Regions from separate parts of the Homo sapiens genome. Here region 1 is linked to region 2. The links are contacts of gene promoters, found by promoter capture Hi-C in blood cells and fetal thymus (Javierre and others, 2016). All regions are on one chromosome and are shown on one strand. Each heading gives the region's core, a stretch centred on a gene start or on the middle of the fragment in contact. The rest is flanking DNA. Distances are from core to core; before and after follow the strand shown.

What was found. The method cuts DNA at HindIII sites, captures the fragments that hold promoters and counts their contacts. A CHiCAGO score of 5 or more calls a contact.
Region 1: a fragment that was not itself captured here is called in contact with the fragment with the promoter of NPPC in region 2 in 6 of 17 cell types (M1 macrophages, erythroblasts, naive CD8 T cells and 3 more); the score reaches 7.1 in M1 macrophages.

The regions. Positions count from the first base shown.
Region 1 is chr2:232,206,754-232,210,018 of GRCh38, reverse strand. All of the region lies in intron 9 of DIS3L2 (DIS3 like 3'-5' exoribonuclease 2), which reads right to left. Among named protein-coding and RNA genes, the nearest start is that of MIR562, 36 kb to the right of the region's middle. The HindIII fragment of the contact is 3,452 bases long and covers 105-3,265 here.
Region 2 is chr2:231,924,458-231,927,645 of GRCh38, reverse strand. It overlaps NPPC (natriuretic peptide C), which reads left to right and starts at 1,250. Exons shown (of 3, transcript NM_024409.4): 1 at 1,250-1,486; 2 at 1,931-2,241. The coding sequence starts at 1,397. The coding sequence ends at 2,221. RefSeq lists an enhancer at 1-560 and silencers at 962-1,181, 2,137-2,186, 2,267-2,356. The HindIII fragment of the contact is 15,333 bases long and covers 1-3,188 here.

The DNA of each region.
Region 1 (3,265 bases), core at 581-3,080, 280 kb before region 2:
AGAGGGGCAAGTTACTTTGGTAAATTACTCTTCAATTTACACTTTGGTAAAATATCCTTCTCCAGTGACTTGTGATACAGGGGGATGGGACCCAACAATAAGCTTCGCAAAAAAACTTTGGGCCGTAGAGTTAACCATAATAGAAGTCTACCTGGAAACAGCACAAATCACAGTTTGTTTCCACAGAATAATTATATATTTCAACCAAGCTCATACCAAGTACACCATGTGCCCATTTATCTTTGCACAATATCCTTACGAACATCACACTCTTACCCTGTGAAACTCCCAGACATTCTCATTCTGTTTTACAGTTTCCCATATAGCATGCCTGACTCAATCCACCCATTCCCACCATGTAAACACCTAAAGATCTTGGCAGCAGCTGTCCTTGGCTCTCCATACCTCCAGCCTTTCCTGCCCGAGGACTGCCTGGAGATTGGGGTATTCTGCAGCAACTGCCCTTCTGCCCCCATGCCACACTCTAGTCGGTGCTCACTGCTTCCTAGGTTCTTCCTCCACTCCATCCAGTACTAGCAGTGCACTGCCACCATTTCTCTGTCTTTTCCTCATTCATCAACACTGATGATGTTGCCCATACTTGTACTAACCATGGTAAGACAGGCTTTGTTCTTAAAGACTTCTTCCCTGGTGTTGCTCCTCTGTTCAAAACCTCCTTGGCAGCAGTGAGCTATAATTGGGCCACTGCACTCCAGCCTGGACAATAGAGCGAGACCCTGTCTTCAGAGGCTGCCAAGCTGCTCTAATGCTGGCCTGCCACAAGCTCTTGGGACCTTTCTCTATCCGACTCTTAACTGTCCACTTACCCTACTCCTAGTAACTCCCAACAGCCCTCTCTAATCCTAACCACAATACTTCCATCCTAAGAGAGTATTAATTATAAGATGCGCCATCAATTCTGTAATAGCTTTTGGAGAAATAAAAACCCCACCACATTAAATATATACATTAATTTTAAGATACTTCAGAATTTCAGAAATGTCAAATGTTTAAAAAATAATAATAACCTTTTTTTTTGTATGGCTCACTGCAGCCTCAACCTCTTGAGCTCAAATAATCCTCCCACCTCAGACTCCCAAGCAGCTGACAGTATAGGTGCATGCCACCACACTGGAGTAGTTTTAAAACTTTTTGTAGAAACAGGATCTCACTCTGTTCCCCAGGCTGATCTCAAACTCCTGGCTTCAAGGGATCCTCTCAACTTGGCCTCCCAAAGTGCTGGGATTACAGGTGTGAGCTACGATGCCCAACCCAAAAAGTAATCTTAAATGGTAAATGGATAACCAGACTGTGGTATACCCCCAAAATGGAACAGTATTTAGCAACAAAAATTAACAAATTATTCATAAATGCAACAGCCTGGATGAATCTCAAAGGTATTGAACTAAGTGAAAAGAGCCACTCTCAAAAAGAAAACAAAGCACTTTGGGAGGCCAAGGTGGGCAGATCACCTGAGGTCGGGAGTTCAAAACCAGACTGGCCAACATGGTGAAACCCCGTTTCTACTAAAAATACAAAAATTAGCCGGGCATGGTGGCACACGCCTGTAGTCCCAGCTACTCAGGAGACTGAGACAGGAAAATTGTTTGAACCCGGGAGGTGGCGGTTGCAGCGAGCCAAGATTGTGCCACTGCATTCCAGCCTGGGCAACAGAGCAAGACTTGGTCTCAAACACAAAAACAAAAAAGGGTGGGGGGAGGAGAGGGGATAAGAAGAGGAGAGGAGAAGAAGAGGAGAGGAACGGAACGGAATGAAAACAGAGATAAGACAGAGAGCAGATCAGTGGTTGCCAGAACTGGGAAAGGTACGCTTGTGCGGGGGCAGCAGGGGGAGTGGAACTAAATCTATGCATGTCTTAAAATTCACAGAATTTTACATACAGCAAAAGAAGGTCAATTTTAATGTTTACTATTTTTTTAAAAAATTCATGTGACTTTCAAATCAAGAAGAGTAAAACATATATGTTAAATATTCATAGGGTTGATCGACGGGTGCTAGATTTATGGATTAATTTTTTTCCCTTTAATGTGTACTTTTTCATATTTTTAAAATTTTTCACTGCAATTGAATATTACTTTTGTAAATGGAAAAAATCAAAACTATAGAGAATCTTCCTTAATCAAAAAACAATTGATCAGATATGTATTATTGTTTGTTTGTAAATATATTGTTTGTACATATATTTAGCTATCTTGTAACATTTGTTACAAGATGCATTTGGCTTAATATAGTTAATGGCTTTAAGATTATGGATCTGGTAAAAACTGTGTCCCTACTGGACACTAAGAAAATAGGGCAGGGAAAGGTAGGTGCCATTCAGGTGGAGGGAACGAGAGCATTTAGAGTGCAGATCCCAGAAAGGGTGATTAATCAGGAGACCCACTCTCCCTCTAAATATTTCGAGGAGAGTCACACACAGTGTAGGCAACATGAAGGTTGAAGCCTCAAGATATACAGAAGTAATTTTGGTTCCACTATATAAAAGAGGTTGTAAGCAAGAGTGCCAGAGGAGAAGAGAAACACTGATCTCCTGGAATGCGTGCTCCGAGGGCTGTGTTCCCAGAGCCTTGAACAGAGGCTGCACCTCAGACATGTTTGTTGAATGAACAGATTGATGGTAATAGGAAGTGCCCAGGAGGTGAAATCAGACCTGGCACCACAGCAATGGGCTGTAATTGATGAGGATCTTGAACTTGGCTCACAAGGTAAAGAAGGAAGTGTCCACTTCTTTCTCCTTTTGATATCTCCCATAAAATCTAACCAAATGTTTTATATACACTGAGTACTCAATAAAAAATACTGGTATAACTGAAACTAAAAAGTCAGACATGGTAGTAGGAATGTTTGGGTCTTCTTCTTTTATCATAATGACATCATAAAAAGCCAAAAAAATGTTCCCCTAGTCAAAATCAAAAAGAACTCCATTAGCTTGGTTGGAGGTGGGAAGCCATCGTTTACTAGGTTACTTGGAGGGTTGACTAGGAAGTTTTAATTTCTTAAAATTAAACGTCTCTGGGTGCTTTGAGACTTTCATTTCTATGGATCCAGTGCATGAATGATAATTCCCATTTAGACATTTCCAGCCTGAAGTTGATCCCACCATATGTGACCGTGTAAGACTTTGTTAGTTTGTAAATGTCTTCTTTGGGAGCCCCCACAACTGCTTTCTAAGAAAAATCCTAGACTAGCCTGTAAGGACTCAAACCAACTCTCTATTACCTTTAACACTTTTTAAAAATCTGCT
Region 2 (3,188 bases), core at 1-2,500:
TTTGTTCTCTCTCCAGCCTGCGTCCTGCTCAGCAGCAGCCAGTCATAGATTCCTGCTCTTCAATCAATTCGGGGGATCTGGGCTCTCCGCCTCTGCGGCCCACACCGCAGTGCCCAAATGCCCACCACACTCCTTAGTGTCCAAGGGACCGAGAAGCCCAGTGCAAGGAGAGCAAGTTCGTGAGTGGTAGGGATATGTGGCCATGTCCCGAGAGCCACGGGGACCTCTCTACAGTCAAAAACGGGAAGTTGACCACCTGTCACGGCTGGCAGAGGCTGGACTGGGCCGCTGGCTAGGAAGCTCTCTCCCCAGCCTGTGAAAGTGCACAGGATACTGGAGCGGGCTTCCCCCAGCAGCGGATCCTCGCGTGGGTGCAGGCAAGGTCAGGTGCGCATTGTTCCCACAGAGGGAGTTCACCAGCGGAGTCAGACCCCGGGACGTTCTGTGTGGCCGAAACCGGCTGAACGTGAACCTAGAGCAGTAACTGGCGAGCATACGATGCCGCGGAGCACACGCATGAGCATGAATATCTTGGTTCCGCGCTCGCAGTCCCCTCGTTCCCGCCTTGCGCTCAAACACTCAGGCTGGCGACACCCCTGCACTCTCCAGTGTGGAAGACTTGCGCTCCCCCCTGCGGCCCAGGCGAACCCCGCTCTCCCTGCGCCTCCCACCCCAGTCCTCCAACCCCATCCTCTGCCTCCCCAACCTAACGACGTCGCTGTGGTCTGCGCTCCCGCCCTGACCGGCAGGTGAAAGGCGGAGCTGCAATGCCATCCCGCGGCTGTCAGGTGCCCAGGGAAGAGTTTGGCGACAAGCAGGGCTGCGTGGATTTCGGGCAGCGCCAACTTTATGCCTGTATGACTTTGGGCAAGTGACTTCATTCCTCTGAGCCTGTCTTTGCACCTGCAAAGAGGGCTACGTATCCCTTCCAGGTAGAGTGAGTGCGATGAGGACCTAGTGGGTGCACAGGGCACCAGGCGCACCGATGCTCGGCAGGCCAGGGCGCGCGCTCGCTGCAAATGGAGTTCCCCTGTGCGCTCAGCTCTGCAGCTCCAAGTGCAGCCTGGAGCGAGCCCGCCGAGCCGCGGGATCCCTCCGGGGTGGGATAAGGGAGGGGAGCCCCCGCGGCCCCCTCCCGGCCCTCGGCGCGGCCGCGTGCGTGGTGTCATTGGCCCGGGCGGCCCGGTGGGCGGGAGGATGACATCAGCGGCAGGTTGGATTATAAAGGCGCGAGCAGAGTCACGGGCTCAGAGCGCACCCAGCCGGCGCCGCGCAGCACTGGGACCCTGCTCGCCCTGCAGCCCAGCCAGCCTGCTCCGCATCCCCCTGCTGGTCTGCCCGCCGACCTGCGCGCCCTCGCTGCCGCCCGTGTGCGCCCCTCGACCCCAGCGGCACCATGCATCTCTCCCAGCTGCTGGCCTGCGCCCTGCTGCTCACGCTGCTCTCCCTCCGGCCCTCCGAAGCCAAGCCCGGGGCGCCGCCGAAGGTGGGTGCTGTCGTGGGGACGCCGAGCCTGGGAGAGGCGTGGGAGGCTGGGGGCTTGGAGAATGCGGCGCGCAGGACCCAGGAGAGAGGGAAGGCAGGCGGCTGTCTCCTCCGAGATGCGCGTGGGCGAGAGCCGGGGAGCCCTCGAAGCGCGGATTCGGGGGTCCACTTCTCCAGCCTCCGGAGAACATCGGCCCATGCGCAGCCCCCTACCCCAGTGTGGCCTGCCCGGCGAGCAGCAAAGGGAGGGCAGGGGGCTTCCGGAGGGAGCGGCGAAGGCGGCCGCGTGGCAGGTGGATGCGGGGCCAAGCTGGCCGGCATCGGTGGGGGCGGCTCTGGGCTTGGGAGGGACACCCCGCGCCGGCGGGCGCGTGGGGCTGGAGCATCAGAGTCCCCCGTGCTGCAGCCGCGTGTCCCTTCACCTGCCCGCTCTTTCCTCGGACAGGTCCCGCGAACCCCGCCGGCAGAGGAGCTGGCCGAGCCGCAGGCTGCGGGCGGCGGTCAGAAGAAGGGCGACAAGGCTCCCGGGGGCGGGGGCGCCAATCTCAAGGGCGACCGGTCGCGACTGCTCCGGGACCTGCGCGTGGACACCAAGTCGCGGGCAGCGTGGGCTCGCCTTCTGCAAGAGCACCCCAACGCGCGCAAATACAAAGGAGCCAACAAGAAGGGCTTGTCCAAGGGCTGCTTCGGCCTCAAGCTGGACCGAATCGGCTCCATGAGCGGCCTGGGATGTTAGTGCGGCGCCCCCTGGCGGCGGTGAGTACGGCCCACCCGACGCCCAGCCCCAGCCCGGCCCGGGACCGCCCGCCGCCCAGCCGGCCTTCGGAGGCGCGCGAGCCGCCTTTGCTCAAGTTGTGCTAGGCGTTTGCCAGCCGCCCCCTTTATTATCCCACTTTACAGACAAAGAAAGCGAAGGATAACGTGATCGGGGAACTTTGGCAAGGTCAGAAACGGCTCAGCCTGGTTGAACCCACCTGGCTTCTTCTGGAGAAGCAGAAACAGGCTTGGTGGTGTCTCACCCACCCCTGAACCGTAGCTGAACTAGCAGCACTGGCCCCTATTGGCCAGCTGGTGGGGGGATTGAGAGGAGATCATGGGTTTGTGGGAGCAGAGAAGGAAGGTTACACCCACAAGTCCAGGGGACATCGATCATCTGCTGGCCACCATGCCCCCTGTAGTGAGAGTAGCCCTCTGCTGGCACTGTCAGAGCGCCCTTCTGCCTGGGACACTCCGATTCCTGTCCCTTCTCTAAACCCAGGCAGTGGGCAAACTGGTCTGTCCAGGGTCCTGAGGCAGCTGCAGCCTGGTGGCTTCGGGGGTGAATCTCAGTGCTTGTGGCACTATTTCAGGGAATAGGAAAGACACTAAAGTAAATATTATTTGCCCCAGCCTCGAACTCAACACGTCCCAGAGTCCCTCACCAACCCTGTCCCGACCCAACCGGTGCTCTGGGCTCCGTTTCTGGTGTGGGGTCTCACCCCGCACTAGGGCTGGAAACCTCTGCCCTACCGCCACCCCCTGCCGGGTGCCGCGTGGTGGTAATTTACTGCTGCAGAGAGCCTCACCTCTCCTCTTTCCCTCCTCTCTATTCCTGCCGCCTGCCCGTGCCCACTGAATAACATCCCAGCCTCTGACATTGACAGTCATGTGCGTTAGGATCAGGCTTACCTGGCTTTCTCGCTTTCTTGCCTCCAGCTCAGCAG